Linked DNA regions of Homo sapiens: all the other regions are linked to region 2. Evidence: promoter capture Hi-C in 16 types of primary human blood cells and fetal thymus (Javierre and others, 2016). All regions are on one chromosome and are shown on one strand. Each heading gives the region's core, a stretch centred on a gene start or on the middle of the fragment in contact. The rest is flanking DNA. Distances are from core to core; before and after follow the strand shown.

Evidence for each region. Contacts are between HindIII fragments. The CHiCAGO score rates a contact against its expected background, and 5 or more counts as called.
Region 1: a fragment that was not itself captured here is called in contact with the fragment with the promoter of ANKRD27 in region 2 in 1 of 17 cell types (activated CD4 T cells); the score reaches 5.8 in activated CD4 T cells.
Region 3: the fragment with the promoter of C19orf12 here is called in contact with the fragment with the promoter of ANKRD27 in region 2 in 3 of 17 cell types (activated CD4 T cells, monocytes and M0 macrophages); the score reaches 6.1 in activated CD4 T cells.
Region 4: a contact is called between a fragment that was not itself captured here and the fragment with the promoter of ANKRD27 in region 2, in 2 of 17 cell types (naive B cells and fetal thymus). The highest score is 8.2, in naive B cells.
Region 5: the fragment with the promoter of CCNE1 here is called in contact with the fragment with the promoter of ANKRD27 in region 2 in 1 of 17 cell types (neutrophils); the score reaches 6.1 in neutrophils.
Region 6: a contact is called between a fragment that was not itself captured here and the fragment with the promoter of ANKRD27 in region 2, in 1 of 17 cell types (endothelial precursors). The highest score is 5.2, in endothelial precursors.

What each region holds. Positions count from the first base shown.
Region 1 is chr19:29,832,269-29,835,491 of GRCh38, forward strand. No RefSeq gene overlaps it. Among named protein-coding and RNA genes, the nearest start is that of CCNE1, 22 kb to the left of the region's middle. The HindIII fragment of the contact is 3,371 bases long and covers 1-3,062 here.
Region 2 is chr19:32,673,543-32,676,778 of GRCh38, forward strand. It overlaps ANKRD27 (ankyrin repeat domain 27), which reads right to left and starts at 1,638. Exons shown (of 29, transcript NM_032139.3): 1 at 1,529-1,638. RGS9BP (regulator of G protein signaling 9 binding protein) reads left to right here and starts at 2,306. Exons shown (of 1, transcript NM_207391.3): 1 at 2,306-3,236. The coding sequence starts at 2,722. RefSeq lists silencers at 1,123-1,172, 1,193-1,922, 2,493-2,552 and enhancers at 1,566-2,185, 2,073-2,182, 2,953-3,002. The HindIII fragment of the contact is 4,511 bases long and covers 24-3,236 here.
Region 3 is chr19:29,714,011-29,716,936 of GRCh38, forward strand. C19orf12 (chromosome 19 open reading frame 12) reads right to left here and starts at 1,251. Exons shown (of 3, transcript NM_031448.6): 1 at 1,115-1,251. RefSeq lists a silencer at 786-1,575 and enhancers at 1,746-1,845, 2,391-2,610. The HindIII fragment of the contact is 2,629 bases long and covers 1-2,537 here.
Region 4 is chr19:29,934,953-29,937,954 of GRCh38, forward strand. It overlaps a transcript of URI1 not described here. Among named protein-coding and RNA genes, the nearest start is that of URI1, 5.8 kb to the right of the region's middle. The HindIII fragment of the contact is 153 bases long and covers 1,471-1,623 here.
Region 5 is chr19:29,810,325-29,813,444 of GRCh38, forward strand. CCNE1 (cyclin E1) reads left to right here and starts at 1,667. Exons shown (of 12, transcript NM_001238.4): 1 at 1,667-1,828; 2 at 2,208-2,254; 3 at 2,365-2,452; 4 at 2,645-2,713. The coding sequence starts at 2,232. RefSeq lists a silencer at 1,121-1,750. The HindIII fragment of the contact is 7,130 bases long and covers 1-2,904 here.
Region 6 is chr19:30,665,529-30,668,936 of GRCh38, forward strand. ZNF536-AS1 (ZNF536 antisense RNA 1) reads right to left here. Exons shown (of 2, transcript XR_007067216.1): 1 at 3,053-3,408; 2 at 1-232. It also overlaps a transcript of ZNF536 not described here. Among named protein-coding and RNA genes, the nearest start is that of ZNF536-AS1, 3.0 kb to the right of the region's middle. The HindIII fragment of the contact is 4,204 bases long and covers 1-3,408 here.

The DNA.
Region 1 (3,223 bases), core at 127-2,626, 2.8 Mb before region 2:
CACGGGTTCCAGCGATTCTCCTGCCTCAGCCTCCCGAGTAGCTGGGACTACAGGCGCCCGCCACCACGCCCGGCTAATTTTTTGTATTTTTAGCAGAGACAGGGTTTCACTGTGTTAGCCAGGATGGTCTCGATCTCCTGACCTCGTGATCCACCCGCCTCAGCCTCCCAAAGTGCTGGGATTACAGGCGTGAGCCACCGCGCCGGGCAATTTTTGTATTTTTAATAGAGAACGGGGTTTCGCCATGTTGGCCAGGCTGGGCTCGAACTCCTGACCTTAGGTGATCCGCCCACCTCAGCCTCCCAAAGTGATGGGATTACAGGCATAAGCCACCATGCCTGGCCAAGCATTTTCTTTTTTAAGAGAGAGGGTCTTGCTCTGTCATCAGGTTGGAGTGCCGTGGCACAATCATAGCTCACTGCAGCCTCGACCTCCTAGACCCAAGAGATCCTCCCGCCTCAGCTTCCAGAGTAGCTGGGACTACAGGTGCACACCACCATGCCCTACTAGTTTTAAGTTTTTTTTGTAGAGATGGGGGAATCTCACTATGTGGCCCAGGCACGCCTTGAACTCCTGGCCTCCAGTGGTCCTCCCGCCTTGGCCACCCAAAATGCTGTGGCTACAGGCGTGAGCCACTGTGCCCGGCTGAGTTTAGCACTGGGGACGTGTTCTAGCCCTACAGACAGCCCTGGTAGGGCACTGAGGTGGGGACTTACCGGCTGCCCTGTGTGCCTTGCGCAGCCCAGGGCACAGCAGTGAGGACTCCAGGAATGCCTGGGAGCTTGTGCAAGCGAGCCCTTAGCCTCCTTAGCCTCTCCCCTTGGGCCCGCCCCTGTGTCTTCTCCAGGCTTCCACCCCCCTCCCTCTCCCAACTTCCCAACTTGTCTTCCTTCTGTTTTTTGTTTTTTGTTTTTTTTTGAGATGGAGTCTCACTCTGTCACCCAGGCTGGAGTGCAGTGGCATAATCTCAGCTCACTCCAACCTCCACCTCTCAGGTTGAAGCCATTCTCCCCCACGTAGCTGGGACTATAGGCACACACCACCGCGCCCAGCTAATTTTTGTATTTTTAGTAGAGACGGAGTTTCATCATGTTGGTCAGGCTGGTCTCGAACTCCTGACGTCAAGTGATCTGCCTGCCTCAGCCTCCCAAAGTGTTGGGATTACGGTGTGAGCCATCGCACCCAGCCGCCACTTCTTTTCCTGGGCAGCCCCTTTGAAAGTGTCATCTACACTCACTGTCACTCCCTCTTGGACCCTCTCCAGTTGGCGTCGCCACACCACACAGTGCCCTCAACAAGGCCACCTAAGACCTCTGTGGGACAAATCTCACAGTATGCGTCTGCCTTCCTCTCCCAAGGCACCTCTGCCACACTTCGCTCTGCTGACCCCTCTTTCCCTCTGGAAACTTCAGTGCCAGCTCCCCCCCGCCCCCACGCACCAAGCATCATCCCTCCCAGGCAGCTCCTCTCTGCTCCAGCATAAGGTGGAGGACCCGCAGATTCATCCCGGCCACCGCCGCCCCCTTGACATTTGTCCCTGGGCAACCTCACCACCTGGAAGACTTTGCCACTGCCTCTGTGCCGGCCTCACCCAAGCAGGGGGTCTCTACCCCAATGAGGCCTGCCCTGGCTGCACACCTGAATGCCCACTTGCCTGCAGGGGGCCTCCACCTGCGCCCTTCACCACCTTCTAGAAAAACTCCTTATTTCACCTTCCATTGTTCATGCTATTACGAAAAATGGGAACTGGCAATACACAATCAACATGAAGGTGACTCAATCCGCAAGTCATCGGGGAAATGCAAAATAAAACAATGAGATAATTTCACAGCCACCAGGTTGGCAAAAATTTTAAAGTACAAAGAACAATACAAATGAATAGCTGTGGATCCATCATCCATATTTGCCTACTTGGCTTCATATCATGTTTTAAAGAAGAAATACAACATTTGAGTATGCAGCAGTTTGTCAAAAGAAAAAAACTAAAAAAGGAAATACAATATTGTAGACATAGATGAAGATCCCCTCATGTTCCTCCTCAGCTGAAACAACTCCCCAAGGTGGATGTATATGATGCCCATACATATTTTTAGACTTTTACCATTTATTTTTGGATCCAGAAGCAATAAATAGACTTATAGCAAATACTGCTTTGGGTGTTTAAAAAATTACCTACATTTGGTGGAAGGAAGAAAAAGAAATAGTAAAAAAACAAAAAAAGAAAAAAAGAAAATAAGTGGAATCAAACTTTACATATCACAATATCACTTGCTATTTTCTTTCAATGTTATTTTCTTTTCTTTCTTTCTTTCTTTTTTTTTTTTTTTTCTTTTTTGACATAGAGTCTCGCCCTGTTGCCTAGGCTGGAGTGCAGTGGCGCAATCTCAGCTCATTGCAACCTCCACCTACCAGGTTCAAGTGATTCTCCTGCCTCAGCCTCCTGAGTAGCTGGGACTACAGGTGCCCACCATCATGCCCAGCTAATTTTTGTATTTTTAGTGGAGACGGGGTTTTGCTATGTTGGCCAGGCTGGCCTCGAACTCTTTACCTCAGGTGATCTGCTTGCCTCAGTCTCCCAAAATGCTGGGATTACAGGTGTGAGCCACCGTGCCTGGCCTCAGTGTTATTTTCAAGATTTACCTATGTTGATCCACGTAGGGTTGAGTTTATTCTTTTGAAATGGTGGTAGAATTTTCCCCTGTGTGAATGTTCCACAATAGATATGCTCCCTGCCACCCTGGTCCACAAGTAGGTTTCTGATTTTTTCACCATCACAAACAGTGTTGCAATTGGCATCTTGTGCACATTGGTGCCACTTACCTGGATTCCTTTAGGGCACATTCCTAGATGTAGGATTGCCACGTCAAAGGGCGTGTGCCTGTGCACCTTAACTAGATGTGGTCAGTGACTTCCTCAAACTGCACCAATCTCCGCTTCCCGCCAGGGAGTGTGAGAGCTCCTGCCTCTCCACCCTTGCTCCAGTACTCAGTATCGTCAACTTCTCTTCCCATTAAAATTGCTAGTATTTAACTTTATTGGTTTTTCTCTGGCTATGAAAGTAAAGCTTGTTTGTTATAATAAATCAGAATACTACAAACACGTACAACATAGAAACTGATGATTCCCCAGAGATGCCGTTCTTAAGAGTTGGAGTGTTAAAACAGTGTACATTGCTCTAGAATTCTTTTCAATGCACACGCTAACACATGAGTGAATGAAAATA
Region 2 (3,236 bases), core at 388-2,887:
TCCTCACCCTCTGCTGTCTCCAAAGCTTCCCCCGAAGGGAAAGAGTATTTTCCCTCTTTCCACCCATTTTGTCCTGAAAACTACTATCCCCCTGGGAACGACCCTATGTAGCGTGTGGGTGGCTGAGAACCCCCCTTCCACACAATGGTCAAGGCCAGGAGTACCCAAGCCCTGGCAGCAAACACCCAGCCTACTGCTCACCCAGTTAAAGGACGGACCCCTGGGTGACAGCAGGCCCCGGGGCTCAGTACACCGGACCCTTAGGCCACCTCAACACCAGTCCTCATGCCAGGCTGATCTCGAAACGTAACAGCTACTGCTCAGCAAAACGTGGTGGCTAGTGCCTGTAATCCCAACACCTTGGGAGGCCAAGACGAGAGCATGGCTTGAGTCCAGGAGTTCAAGACCAGCCTAGGCAACCTGCTAGACTCCATCTCTACAAAAAAAAAAAAAAAAAATTAAAAATTAGCCGTGCATAGTGGCATGCGCCTGTAGTCCCAGCTACTACAGAGGCTGAGGTGAAAGGATTGCTTGAGTCCAGGAGTTTGAGGCTGCAATGAGCTATGATGGCATCACTGCACTCCAGACTAGCCAACAGAGCCAGACCCTGTCTCAAAAAGAAAAAAACGAAAAGAAAGAAAAGAAAAAAAATATCCACTGCTCTACTCTTCGGCCAGTGGGAAGAGTGCATTTTTTAATCAAAATAGGGGCCTCTATCCATGAAACCCATCAACTTGTAAAATCTGAGCTCTCTGCAGCCTCACAGTCCCTCCAGCACTGCCAGCAGCCCTCGTTCCCTGCATGCTCTAAATCCTCAGCGAAGACCCGTCCCTTGCTCCCTCGCCCAGCACAGGCCGCGAGTGCCCACGTCCCCTGCACCTCGTGGGGCAGCCAAGGGGGCACCGCGTGGCTCGTGTGCTCCTGGGCAGTCCATTTTCAACCACAAGACGGAACAGACTCAGAATCCGGAACATCTCTCGGTGCTTAAGAGTTTTCCTTTAACAATCTTTACCTGTGGGAATGCAGAGACCCCCCCGCCCTGCGAGAGGCCGGCAGCCAGGGATTCCCCGCTCCGCGCCCTCATCACCCCCCGGAAACCACAACCGCTGCGCGCGCGGCTCGGACCCCCACCCGCCGCTCCCCTCCAGCAGACCCTAGGCCTCCGGGAAACCGCGCGGCGACCGCCCCGCGCCCCGCCAGATCCGAACCGCCGGACCCGGCACCCCGGCCACACCCGCCGGTGTCGACGCAGCGAGGCTCGGAGGGTGCATTCTCCGCGCCGACCGCTCCCCTCCTCCAGACCCGAGGGGCGGAGTGGGCAGGGCGCGCCGGCTGCGCACCGGGCACCCACCTGGGGACGCGGGGGCTGGGGCGGCGCGGGGCCACCTGGCGGACCCGGGAGCGGACTCCGGAGAGCAGGGAGCCCCTCCCCCCTCACTCTCCGGGCCCCGCCCGGCCGCCGCGCCCCGAGGCGCAGCCATCCCGCGGGAGGGGAGGCGCAGGAGGAGGCCAGCGCGAGGACACTTACTTAAAAGGCTACATCGCTTCATTCCCAGCCCATCCTGGGCGACGGCGGCACCTCCCTCGTCCGCTGCTGGGACCTCGATGCCCACCACCCTCGCGCGGCGATCTGGCCCTATAGCCCACCCCTTACTCCGCCGTGGGGCGGAGCCGCGCCACAGCTGACCCAATGAGAAACCGTCGTTTCCCAGAGTGACGTGTACGCAGAGCAATCATGGAGTCCAGCCCAGCCGGGGGCGGGGCTCAGGCGGCTCCCTACGCTTCCTACTCCAGCTGGCCCCGCCCCACGCCCGCAACTGCGCGTGCCCAGAACGTGAGGGGCGGGGCTGGGAGCCGGGCTGACACTAGAGGTGGGGTTAGCGCTTGGAAGCACCGACCAACGTGAGCGCAACGCGGCAGGGACACCTGACCCCGGCGGCGCCCAGCCCCTCGGATTGCCAGTCACTGCTCGCTTTGGGGCACGGAGGTGCCCAGTCCTGCGGGGCACCCGACGTCCTGTCGCCGACAGGGTCCGGGAGTCAGTATAGCTGGGTTCTAGTCCCATCACAGGCAAAAACTCCGCGGGAGCCTGGCCCGCTTTTTACCTGGGCCTCAGTTTCCCCATCCGTAAAATAGAACGGGTTGGATCTCCCGAGCGCTAACATTCCAGAACTCGGATGGGGCGAAGGGGAGGGAGGGATGGGCCACCCACACGTGACCTCCCCGCGTGGAGCCCCGCCTACCACTGATCCAGGGGGTGGCAGCTCCGGCCGGGACGAGCGGGGTGGGCGGGTCCTAGGAAACCCTACCCGGCCGCCCTTGGCAGCGCCTAAGGCGGAGCGCGCGGCTCTGCAGCCTGCTTGCCCCGGAGTTGGCACCCACGGAGGATGGGGACCGCACCCTCAGCTTCGCAGGGAGCCACCGTGGAGGCCAGGGCGGTGCAGAGACACGACGTGTGACTCGGAGTGCGCCTGGGGAGGATGGACGAGGGAGCGGGGGACCGCTAACGGGGCTCCCTCTGCGCGCCCCGTCCGCAGAGGCGCACGTCGAGGGTCCCGGGCGGGCTCCGTGGACGTTGGCGGTAGCGCCGAGCGAGTCACGGACCATGAAGAGCGTTCGTGCCGCGCGGCCCAAGGCCGGGATGGGGGTTAGCCACATCCTGCCGCGCTGAGGGGGAGGCTAACGGGCGCGGGCGGCCGGGCCCAGCCGGAGCCCACCGCGATGGCGAGGGAGGAGTGCAAGGCGCTGCTGGACGGGCTCAACAAGACGACTGCGTGCTACCACCACCTGGTGCTGACCGTCGGTGGCTCGGCGGACTCGCAGAACCTGCGGCAGGAGCTGCAAAAGACGCGCCAGAAGGCGCAGGAGCTGGCGGTGTCCACCTGCGCCCGGCTGACTGCTGTGCTGCGCGACCGGGGCCTGGCCGCCGACGAGCGCGCCGAGTTCGAGCGGCTCTGGGTGGCCTTCTCGGGCTGCCTGGACCTGCTGGAAGCGGACATGCGACGCGCGCTGGAGCTGGGCGCCGCGTTCCCGCTGCACGCGCCGCGGCGGCCGCTGGTGCGCACAGGTGTGGCTGGCGCCTCCTCCGGCGTGGCGGCGCGCGCGCTGAGCACCCGCAGCCTGCGGCTCGAGGCGGAGGGCGACTTCGACGTCGCGGACCTGCGGGAGCTGGAGCGCGAGGTCCTTCAGGTGGGCGAGATGATCGACAACATGGAGATGAAGGTCAACGTGCCCCG
Region 3 (2,926 bases), core at 1-2,500, 3.0 Mb before region 2:
TCTCTTTCCCTCTCCCCTTCCTTCCTGCTTTTTGTTGTTGCTGGTGTTGTTGTTGTTTTTTCCAGAAACGCAGTCTCCCTGTGTTGCCTAGGCTGGTCGGGAACTGGCCTCAAGCAATTCTTCCGCCTCGGCCTCCCGAGTAGCTGGAACTACAGGTGCTATTCCAAGATGGTGAAACCCCGTCTCTACTAAAAAATACAAAAATTGGTCGGGGTGGCTCACGTCTGTAATCCCAGCATTGCAGAAGGCTGAGGCAGGTGGATCGCAAGGTCAGGAGTTTGAGATTAGCCTGGCCGATATGGTGAAACTCCGTCTCTACTAAAAATACAAAAAAATTAGCCAGGCTTGGTGGTGTCGCCTGTAATCCCAGCTACTAGGGAGGCTGAGGCAGGGGAATTGCTTGAACGAGGGAGGTGGAGGTTGCAGTGAGCCGAGATCGCGCCATTGCACTCCAGCCTGGACAACAGAGCAAGACTGTCTAAACAAAAGCTCAACAAACTACCTGCCATCCCCAAAACTAATCTCACCTCCTAAAGCATTAACGACCCTTCCTGACCAAATCTAAACTAGCGCCCAGATTTTCTTCCCATATGGCTCAGCCCAGCTCCGCTGCCCCACAGGTGTCCTGTCAGGATCCGCTTCACATTTATAATACCTAGCACCCCACCCCCAGCCCCGCCCCTGCCCCACCAGCCACCCCCACTCTACCCCACCCCTACCCATCACATTCCGCACCCCACCCCCGCCAAACCCACATCCCCACCCCACCCAACCTCACCCACTCCCACCACATCCACCACCCGCACCCCACCCCCACCCACCACACCCATGCCTACGCCACTCCTGGGTGACAGCGAGCCAGGGCCCGGGACTCTAGTCCCAGCTCTGCTGCTTACTTGTGTGACTTCAGCCTCTCCATGCCTCAGTTTCTCCATAGGGACAATGACTACACTAACAGTGTCCACCCCGGCACCGGGAGGGCCGGGCTCCCGGCAGGGCGGGGACCCTCTCCCCAAGGCACTCCCGGGTCTCCAGGCCTGCTCTTGGGGTGCCCCCTCCTCTCGCGGGGCGCGGCCTGGGAGGCGCCCCGCCCCGGCTCCGGGCGCTCCTTTACCTGGGGGAGCGGAGGTCTACGCGGCGCGCTCGGCGATCAGACGCGGCTGCAGCCCGGGCCTGGCAGGCCCCGGGCTCCCCGCCCAGCTCCCCAGCCCCGCGGAGGGTCGCGCAGGCCTTGGTGGCGGCCCCGGCGCTGGCCCCGCCCTCCGTCCCACCTTCCGGCTGCGCCGGGCCTTCCGGGAAGCCACGCGCCGGGCCAGCTCCTGGCTCCGAGCTGCGCCCGGCCTTAGGGGGAGCCGGGGGTCGCTGCTGGGCACCCCCTCCCCGGTCCTGGCCCACCCCGCCGCTGTCACCGGGGCCCTGGCTTGGGTTGCGGGTGGCGTAAGGAGACGAGGCGCCCGGAGAAGAGTCCTGGGAACCGCAAGGCCGCGCTCCCGCAGGCCCAGCCCTGCCTTTCTCCCACGCGCACGCATGATCACATCCGGGCCCCGCGCACCTGCCTCCAGGACCGCGGGGACCTCCCGGAGACCTCCCTCCCTTTGGCCTGGAGGACCCCTCTCTCCCCGCAGCCTGGGCACAGAAGAGAGCACAGGGGCATCTGGAGGTCAAGGGTGCTGCGTCAGTATTTGGTGAATGTGTGGGCCGGAGCCAGATTTCCTCTGTTCCAGAGCCTGCTCTGGAGCCTCTGGGTCTGGGGGTTGCAAAAGGAGAAGCAGGTTGGGTGGGACTCGTAATCCCAGCTGCCAGTGAGGCTGAGGAGGGAGGATTGCTTGAGCCCAGCAGTTCGAGCGTGGGCAACACAGTGACATCCCATCTCTACAAATAATAATAAAAATTAGGCCGGGTGGGTGAGTCATACCTGTGACCTACAGCATTTTGGGAGGCTGAAGCGGGAGGATTGCTTGAGCCCAGGAGTTCGAGGCTGCAGTGAACTATGATCCCACCACTGCACTTCAACCTGGGTGACAGAGTGAGACCGTCTCTTAAAGAAAGAAAAAAAAGGAAAAGAACTGGCTTTGCTCTTAGGAGTCTTGGATGGGGACCAAAGCTGAGGCAAGGCAGCCTCTTAGGAAGGTGCAAAGGGCATGAGGCTGGGGTTGCAGAACTGCCTGGGAATACTACTTTATTGAGGCCTGTGGAAAGCTGTCCCTACTCTTGTCATGCAAGGTCTGGCCTTGAACCATCTCAAATCCAAAAGTGGCTTCTGGGGGGCTCTATAGAGAATTAATCCTAACAGGAACCCTGCAAAGCAGGCATGGTTGTCACTGCTATATTACAGATGGGAAGCTCTAAACACAGGCTGCTCTGCCCAAGGCCATCCTGGTTAGAAAGTTTCAGGGCCCAAACTCCAGCCTCGGTCTCGGTATCTCAAAGTCTCCGCCTGTGACCAGCACTCTGCCTGCTTTCCAGGGTGCCATGGGCACCCAGAGGACGGACCCTTTTCCATTTTTAAAAGAATGGAACAAACGCTCTTAATACCAAGCTTCCCCAGGCCTTGGCTGGGATAAAACAACCCCATTTATTCCTGAATCGGAGCTTTTGCTTGAGTTTGGGTGACTTTCAAGAGGGAAAGTGAACTGAGGCCAGGGGAACTCAGCTTGCTGCCTTCCTGGGGCCTGAGTGTGGCGCTCCCGTTTCTCTGCGGGCAGCTCCCTCTGGCGGCACATTGCAGAACTGGCCTGCAGACTCCTCCCCCAGAGATAGTGGGGAAGAGGGCCTGTGTAGGGAAAGATGCTGGGAGTGAAAGAAGCTTCAAAGTCCAGGCCCTCCAGAGAAGGCAAGCATGTAAGAGGTTCATGCAGCCCAGCGCGGTGGCTCACACCTGTAATCCCAGCACTTTGGGAGGCCGAGGCGGGCAGATCACCTGAGG
Region 4 (3,002 bases), core at 297-2,796, 2.7 Mb before region 2:
AATCCATTCTATCAATCTCTGCCCTTTAATTAGACAGTTTAGTCCATTTACATTTAAAGTAATTACCAATAAAGGATTTAATTCTGCCATTTATTTAATAGCTATTTGCTTTTCTGTACATTTTTTAAATTTTGTTCCTCAATTCCTCCACTACTACATTTTTTTGGTATTTAATAGATTTTAGTGTATCATTTTGATTCCTTTTTTCTTTCCCTGTCTGTATATTTTTTAGTTATTTTCTTAGCGGTTGCCTTGGGGATCACAATTAGCATCTTAAATTTATAACACCCTAATTTGAATAATACTAACTTAGTTTTAAGAGTATACAAATACTTTGCTCCTATACATCTCTTTCCCTCCCTCTTTATATTATTATTGTCCCAGATCATATCTTTATACATTCTGTGCCCATTAACATAGATTTATAATTATTGTTTCATGCATTTGCCCTTTAAATGATAGGTGAAAAACAAAGTATTATGAACAAAACCTACAATAATACTGGCTTTTATATTTACTGATGTATGTAGTTACTATTTTTATCAGTGTTCTTTTTTTTTCTCATCATGGCTTTGAATTACTATCAAGTTTCCTTTCATTTCAGCCTGATGGATTCATTTTAGCAGCTCTTGTAGAGCAGGGCTACTAGCAATGAGCTTTCTCTGCGTTTATTTATCTGAAAATGTCTTAATTTCTCCTTTATTCCTGAAGGATAGTTTGTCTGGTAGGAAATTCTTGGTTGACAGTCTTTTTTTTTTTTTTCCCCAGGACTTTAACTGTGTTATTCCACTGCCTCTGGGCCTCTGGTTCCTTTTCTTTTCTTTTCTTTTCTTTTCTCTTTTCTTTTTTTTTGAGATGGAGTCTCACACTGTCATCCAGGCTGGAGTGAAATGGTGCCGTCTTGGCTCACTGCAACCTCTGCCTTCCAGGTTCAAGCAATTCTCCTGCCTCAGTCTCCCAAGTAGCTGGGACTACAGGCACCCGCCACCACGCCTGGCTAGTTTTTTGTATTTTTAGTAGAGACAGGGTTTCACTATGTTGACCAGGCTGGTCTAGAATGCCTGACCTCATGATCCACCTGCCTTGGCCTCCCAAAGTGCTGGGATTATAGGCGTGAGCCACTGTGCCCGGCACTTAAAAAAAATTTTTTTTTGAGATGGAGTTTTGCTTTTTTAGAGTTTTGCTCTTGTGCCCAGGCTGGAGTGCAGTGGTGCAATCTTGGCTCACTGAAACCTCCACTTCCCAGGTTCAAGCAATTCTCCAGCCTCAGCCTCCCAAGTAGATAGGATTACAGGTGCCCACCACCGCATCTGGCTAATTTTTGTATTTTTAGTAGAATGGGGTTTCGCCATATTGGTCAGGCTGGTCTCGAACTCCTGACCTCAGGCGATCTGCCCACCTCGGCCTCCCAAAGTGCTGGAATTACAGGCCTGAGCCACTGCACCCAGCCCCTCTATGGTTTCTGATGAAAGCTTAGCTATTAATGTTACTGAGGACTCCTTGTACCTTACAAGTTGTTCCTCTCTTGCTGCTTTCAAGATTCTCTTTTTGTTTCTGATTTTTGACAATCTGGCTGTGAGTTTCAGTATGAATCTCTGAGTTTCTCGCGCTTGTAATTTGTTAAGCTTCTTGGACGTGTATGTTCATATCCTTCATCAAATTTGGGAAGTTTTCAGCCATTATTTCTTCAAATTTCTTTTTCTGTCCCTTCCTGTTCCTCTTCTCCTTCAGGAACTTCTACTATGCATATGTTGATATATGCTTGATGGCATCACATGGATCTATCAGGCTCTGTTCATTTTTCCTTTTCTTTTTTTTGAGATAGAGTCTCACTCTATTGCCCAGGCTGGAGTGCAGTGGCATGATCTTGGCTCACTGCAACCTCCTCCTTCTTGATTCAAGTGATTCTCTGGCCTCAGCCTCCCCAGCAGCTAGGGTTACAGGTGCGCGTCACAATGCCTGGCTAATTTTTGTATTTTAGTAGAGATGGGGTTTCACCATGTTGGCCAGGCTGATCTCAAACTCCTGAATTCAAGTGATCCACCCTCCTCGGCCTCCCAAAGTGCTGGGATTACAGGCATGAGCCACCATGGCCAGCCTATTTTTCGTTATTTATTTTTCTCTCTTTACAACTGGACAATTTCAATTGCCTTATCTTCAAGTTCACTGGTTCTTTCTTCTTCCTGATTCTTCAGATCAGCTTTTTGATCTCTCTAGTGAATTTCTAAGTTCAAGCTATTGTACTTTTCGGCTCCAGGATTTCTATTTTGTTCCTTTTTATAAGATTAAACTATCTCTTCATTGGCCTTCCCTATTTGTTCATATATTATTTTGGTTTCCTTTAGCTCATTGGGTGTAAGACAGTTGATTTAATGTCTTTGACTAATGTTTCCAATGTAAAGGCTTCCTTGGGGATGGCTTCTATTGAATTCTTTTTTTCCCCCTGTGAATAGGCTATACTTTCCTTTTTCTTTGTATGCTTTGTAATATTTTGTTGAGCACTTGGCATTTTGGGTATTATTGTAGTAACTCTGAAAATCAGATTCTCCTCCTCTTCAGGGATTGCTGATTTTTGCTTGTTGAGGGTTGCAGCCATCTGTTTGTTTAGAGACTTTTCCAAACTATGTTTGCAAAGTGTGTAGTCCTTATTGCATGTGGTTACTGATGTTTTTGTTTCATAATCTTTACAGGCAACCAGTGACCTGGAAATGATATCTGTAAATTTCTGGCTACAAAAAGGTGTTCTTTACTTTCAAATCTCCTGATGGATGCTGCCATAGGAAGCACAAGAGGGCTGAAACCAATACAGGAGTCTGTGCTAATCCCTCAGGACTCAAAAATGCCCCAATTTTTGGAGGACAAGGGTCATCTTGCCCACCTTGCAACCAGCCAGCCATTCCAGGAAAGCTATTCCTGCAGCCTCATGGTAGGGTGAGGGCTGAGAAATGGGGCATGGCAGCTGTTTTGCATCCACCCTGTTGCTGTTCTCTTACCAACAACCA
Region 5 (3,120 bases), core at 417-2,916, 2.9 Mb before region 2:
AGCACCTGGGGGAATCATGAATTTGTGAGCCTCTTTGATAAGACCCTGGCTCTAACTTCAAGAAAACGGTCACTAGGGGAGGGTGAGGGACAGGACTGAGACTTTAGCTTAAGAAGGGCCCTGGGAGCATTCCAGAGCCTTCTTTTACGCACATCTTCCTGAAGCTGAGTACAGAGGGTACTCTGAGGTGATGACTGTTCCTTACCTGTCTCTCTCATTAGCCGGTAAGCCCTGCAAGGGCTTGGCCAGTGCCTGTCTTTCAAATGTTCATTCAGAAACAATTTAAGTGTCTCCCTTGGTCCAGGCACTATGCCAAGAACTGACAGATACAGCAGTGAGCAAGATGGGCAAGGTGGGGAGAGAGACAAGAAACAGAGAGGCACCAAGACTGTGTAGGGGCTGGGCTCCCAGCACTTTGGGAGGCCAAGGCGGGAGGATCGCTTGAGCTCATGGGTTTGAGACCAGCCTGAGCAACATAGCAAGACCCTATCCCTACCTGCCACCCCCCACCCCCCGCCACAATAAAAAATACAAGTCTTGAGGGAGAAAGGACAGAGGAGCTGTGGAGAGGAGGCCTGAGGTCTGAGGGTGGGGGATCAGGGTCAGGTCCTGTGGAGCCTGTAGCCTAGGACACGGAGTGTGGATTTGACCCTTATGCGAAACAACTGGAAGGCTTTTTGTTTCTTTTTCTGTAGAAATGGGGGTCTCACTGTTACCCAGGCTGGTCTCGAACACCCCAAGGGATCAGCCGTCTCGGCCTCCCACAATGCTGGGATTAAAGGCGTGAGCCACCGCGCCCGGCCTCAACTGGAAGGCTTTAAGTGAGAGATGGGGTGCAAGGGAATCCCAGAGTCAGAAAGGTCTTCAGAGAGCCAGGAAGGGCTTGCGGGGGAGGGGCGCATATGGAAGGGGCGCATGGAAGGAACTCACAGATTCCTTGAATGAATGAATGAACGACCCAATGCACTGACGGATGAATGGACAGGCGGCCAGGAATAGCAGCCGGCCCCCAGGGAGCCCCAGACCCCGCGGCCTGAAGCCTTGGTTCTAGGCCAAGGCACAGGCGCGGTGACCTTGGGGATGTCCCCGCCCAGGACTCAGGGCCCGGAACTCGGCGTCTCGGGGGCGGGGAGGGCGTGCCTGGCGGGACAGCGCGCGCGGAGGAACGGCGGGCGGTGCTCCTCGGGTAGGCCCCCCACACATCCCCTTGGCTCAGCCCTGCCGGGGCCCGAACCCGCGCCGCCCGCCGTGTTTACATTCCACCCGCGCCAGCCACGCGGCTTTTTGCCGCTCCAGCGCCGCTCGGCCCCGCCCCCGGCGCCCGCGGCCCGCCCCTCGCCGCCGCGCGCCAGACTTCTCCCGCGTCCCGCCCGCCGCCCCGCCCCGCGTCCCGCGCCCCGCGCCCCGCGCCCGGCCCTCGGCGCGCAGGCCCTGTCACTTGGCCCCGCCCTGTCCGCCGGCCCCGCCCCTGATTCCCCGTCCCTGCGCCTCGCGGGCCGGCGCCGTGGAGGGGCGGGTCCGGGGGCGGGGCGAGGGACGGGGCGGGACGGGCTCTGGGTCCCGCGCGGCCGCTGAGGGGCTGGGAGCCGCGGCGGGGCGGTGCGAGGGCGGGCCGGGGCCGGTTCCGCGCGCAGGGATTTTAAATGTCCCGCTCTGAGCCGGGCGCAGGAGCAGCCGGCGCGGCCGCCAGCGCGGTGTAGGGGGCAGGCGCGGATCCCGCCACCGCCGCGCGCTCGGCCCGCCGACTCCCGGCGCCGCCGCCGCCACTGCCGTCGCCGCCGCCGCCTGCCGGGACTGGAGCGCGCCGTCCGCCGCGGACAAGACCCTGGTGAGTCTACTGCCGCGGGCTGCGGACAGGGACTCCTGGGGCCCAGACCGCGCCGGGGAGCTGGGTGGGGGCGGGGTGCGGCCGGGTCGCGGGTCCCCGGGCGGCGTCGCGGGGCGCCCGGGAGGGTGCTGAGAGCGCGGCGGGGTGGGGTGGAGGGGACACTGAGGCAGCCCGGGCCCCGGGAGGCGACGGGCCGGTGAGGGCGGCGGGGGCGGCGGGACCCCGGGTCGGGGGTCGGCGGGTGCCCGGGTCGCGGGTGACAGGCCACCCCGCCATCGGCCATCTTCCTGGCTCGCCCGGCCGCCCGCGCGCAAAGGGGGAAGGGGTACTGGGCCCGCGGCCTGACCCCGCCGCCGCCTCACCCCGCGCCGCCCCGCAGGCCTCAGGCCGGAGCAGCCCCATCATGCCGAGGGAGCGCAGGGAGCGGTGAGTGCCCGCGCCGCGGGGCCGGACGGGACGGGACGGGACGGGACGGGTGGCGTGGGGGAGGGGCGGCCGCGGGTGCTCACCCGGCCCGGTGCCACCCGGGTCCACAGGGATGCGAAGGAGCGGGACACCATGAAGGAGGACGGCGGCGCGGAGTTCTCGGCTCGCTCCAGGAAGAGGAAGGCAAACGTGACCGTTGTGAGTACAAAAGAGACAGGTTGGGGAGCATCCCCCCCATCTCACCTGGGTACCCGACTTGGCTCTGCCTACGGGGGCGGGGGTCCCTTGGGCAGGAACGGAGCTCATAACCTGATCAGCTTTCTCTTCTTCTCTCTGTTTTTGTCTTGTTTGGTGTGTTTCCTTGGGGTCATGGGGGTGGCTTCATGTTAGTTTTTGCAGGATCCAGATGAAGAAATGGCCAAAATCGACAGGACGGCGAGGGACCAGTGTGGGAGCCAGGTAGGTCCGCCCGGGGTTGGGCCTCTGTGGAGGTCCTTCTCCCCCTGGGTCACATGGGGTTTCATGCTGTCTTGTCTCTTGCTGGAGACACTCTGGTGAGAGTGAACTTCTCTAATGCAGCCACAGCCCATATGGCCCAGCACTGTACCTGTCAGTGGGCACTGGCCTCTGCCAGTCCTGGGATTCCAGGAAGCTTGGTGTTCCTGACTGGCACCGTCTGAGATTACAGATATGTGCCTAGCCTGGAAGAACCAGAATGGACATCACAGTATTCAGTCCTCCCCTTCTGCCCAGGAGGAAACTGAGACTCAGTTAGAGGAAGAAAGTAACCCAGAGTCCTGTGCCATCCAGGGGCAAAGTTGGGCTCTCGGCCTTGTCTGTAAAAGCTGGTGAACTGGGGGAGGGTT
Region 6 (3,408 bases), core at 797-3,296, 2.0 Mb before region 2:
CTGGGATTGAAGTTTCACAGGAAAATCACCTTTGCTGCATTTCCTGAAAGTGGCTCCTGAAGATCCTGGTCACTCAAAGGCCATGTGACTGGCCCAGGAGGGTCTGGTGCTGGGTAAATTCTGTTTCGAAACCATCTGGAGATCCTTGCTTCTGCCAAAAAGACACCCTTTCCATGTCCATTCCAGGCTCGAGGGAACAAGCCAGGTTTCCCTTTTGCTGGACAAAGTGCTCCTAGAAAACAGGTTAAGGGGATCAGCAGCAGCGTGGAGAGATTTGGGGTTTGGGTATTTGGGGGGCCCTAGGCAGCAGGCACAGTCACTAGGGGATCAGAGGACTGAGAGGAAAGGAGGGGTCACTGTCTGGAGACATTGCACATTCTGGTGCACTGCATGGACAGGTGATTCCTGGTGTGTCTGGGATTCCTGTGGTGGCCCCTTTTGGGAGACTTTATTTGGGATCCTGGGGTCCAGGCTGGGGCCCCTGCAGCCCCAAAGGGCTCTGAGGAGGGACCCTCGATACATCTCACCTAGGTACCCATGAAGATGGGACTACACCAAGTTTGTTGCTTTAGGGTTGATCTAGACAGAAGGTGCCTATCTGCAGACATGCCACAGACATGCGTGTGCATGCTCGCTTGCTGATCACGGCTCACCTGGTCTCCCAGGAGGTTCTGAGCTTAGGCCCAGCCCTCCCAGCAGCAGGTGCACTGCCTCCCAGTCTCCCATCACTCAGGATGCTTGAGCTGCTTCTCATCTTTGATGAGGTGGCTCAGGCCCTGCTGCTGGGTTCCTTCTCACATCAGAAGCTGGCCGGGTCCGACACGTTCCCTCCTGTCCGCTCTTCTTTTCTCCCTCCCTTTCCCTGCCTCCTCCCTCCCTTCCACTCCCTCCTCTCTTTTCTCCCCTCTCCTCCCATCCTCTGCTGGGGATCCCGGCAGGCACTGGCTGCACTCACGTCCTTCCACCAGTAGATGGCGGCCTCTGCACAGAAGTGGAACCCACATTTCTATTACTGTTTAGGCTTTGAGAGGGGGCTTTCTGAGCCTCAAGGTGGGGTGTTCTAGGAACAGCTCCGGGCTCTGGGGGTAGCAGAATCCTCAGAAGCCCACACATGGGGTAAGGCGGGAGCTGGAAACCTCGCGGATCTAGTTTCCCTTGCCTCAGAGCTGGGACCCAGAAATACCTTTTAATTGCTTTATTTGTTTTCTCTGTGTGTATATATATAATATAAATATACACACAAAATATATATATTCAAAAATATATATGTAAAATATATGTATGTGTATATATGTGTGTGTGTGTATATATATATATATATGTATGTATGTATGTATGCATATTTTAAAAGACTTATTCACATTGAAAATCCAGGATATTTTACAGAGCATATCAGGCAATTTCTGGAAAAGTCAGAAGTTGTGGTAACCCTGGGCTCATGTCTCCTGGGCCACAGGGGAAGGTGCTGAGTATCGCCTGACCCTTGGGGCAGCTGTTCTCAGGCCTACCTTGGTGTAAGCTCTTGCCCTACCCAATTTTCCCAGGAATGCAAACTGTGCTGTAAGCTGGGCCCTCTTGTCTAAACTAACCTCGTTAGCATCTCGCAGTAGCACAGCACCGAGGACTAATGACTGAACACATGCTGTGTGCTGTAGACCTCCCGAGCACCAGGTACTGTCTCCATCTGAATTCATTTACACGCCTGAACAGGTGTAATTATCCCCAGCTTACAGAAGGGGAAACTGAGGCTCAGAGGAGCAATCGCCTGTCCCAGTAGCAGAACAGGGGTGACTTGCACACAGGCTTGCCTGGTGGAAAAGCTGGGTTAGTGCCTGGTTGGCCCTTGGGTGCAGGGAGGGGGCACCTGCACCCTCCCACGCTATCAGCCTCTCCCTCTGTGTGCGTTAGCTGCTTTCTGTGTCCATCCGGGAGGCCTCCCCCATGCCGAAGCTGCCTGTGAGTGGGAAGGTGGGTGGTTAGGAGACCTGAAATGCCGAAGTGTCCCCAATGGCCTGGATCAAGGTTAATTGAAGGGACTGACCATGACTGTGTATAAAACAATGTCAGAAGACTCTCTCAGCTAGAGTTTTTTCTAGCTTTTTTTTTTTTTTTAATTAATGAGAAGTGAGGTAATCTCACCTTTTCAGATTCCCAGAGTAAATGAAGACCTACCTGCTCTGGAAGCCCAGAGCATGTCAGGTTGTCTTGGATATAGAGTACATGAACAGCTCCCAGCCTATTTACTACAGTACTAGATAACAATAGCAGAGCAGTAGTGTTAGTATACACTCAGCATGTCCTGAGTGCTTGCAATGTGCTAAGAACTATGCTGTGAAGGTCAAACCCTATAAGGTATACATTGTTATTAGCCTCATTTCATCGATGGGGAAACGCAGGCTCAGAGAGGTTAAGTAACTTGTCTAAGGTCACACAGCTGGTAATTGGCAGGGCTAGATTTGAAGCCAGGTCCTCAGGGCACTATCCTTTCAAGGAATTCTATCGAAATGGCATGTAATTGGCTCTAAAATAACTGGAGTGCCCTTCAGAAGTGCTAACTGCTCCAAGTTATCTGGATTCTTCTTGGATGTTAAATGTAATATTAGAAAAAAAATTTTTAGTTCATGATGATGGTCTTGGCCACATTTTCTCTCTCTCCAGGAAATAAATTTTTGCAAAATTAAGATATTTATTTGCCCTGGAGACTCTACACCATGTAGAGATTCCACAGTGGGGGCTCCTGACCTTGAGTTTGAGGGGAGGGGGTGTGATTGACTTTCTTTTGCTTGCTAGGACAGGTCCTGCATCCCTGGGCCAATCAGGGGCCCCTTCTAGAATTTTCTGCCTAATACACTGCTAACCCTGTCCCAGGCCAGGCTACAGTTGCTTCCTGGTGTGTCTGAGTTTTTGTGTGGGGGCGCCTTCTGGGAGCTTAAAAGCTCAGGATCTTGGCGGCCAATTTGAGGGTCCCTGCAGTCCCAAAGGACACTGAGGAGGGACCCTTGTTATGCCTCTCCCAGGTACCCGTGAAGATGGAGCCACCAAAGTTTGTTACCTTAGAGTTGACCCAGATCTGTGGTGAGGGGAAGTCGGCTCCAGCCTCTGCGCTGCCTCTCTCTGCTGATGGCTCCCTGGGGGCTCGGTGTAGGTCTCCTCTATAAGGCGGGTCATATTTGCCACACCCACTTCGAGGCCATGTGAAGGGGCCGCGTGGGAGGTGCCCAGTTCTTGGCTGGTGGAAAAGTCGTTTGTTGCTGTGATCACAGGAGCTCCCAACTCATTCCACCTTCTCTAAGCCAGCTCCGATTCCTGAGGACCACCTGTGTGCCCAAGCCTGGTTGGGGCGTTTCTGGTTAATTAGGAAAGGGATCCCATACCCCAAATGCCCAGAAGAAGGAGCCAGAGGTTTAG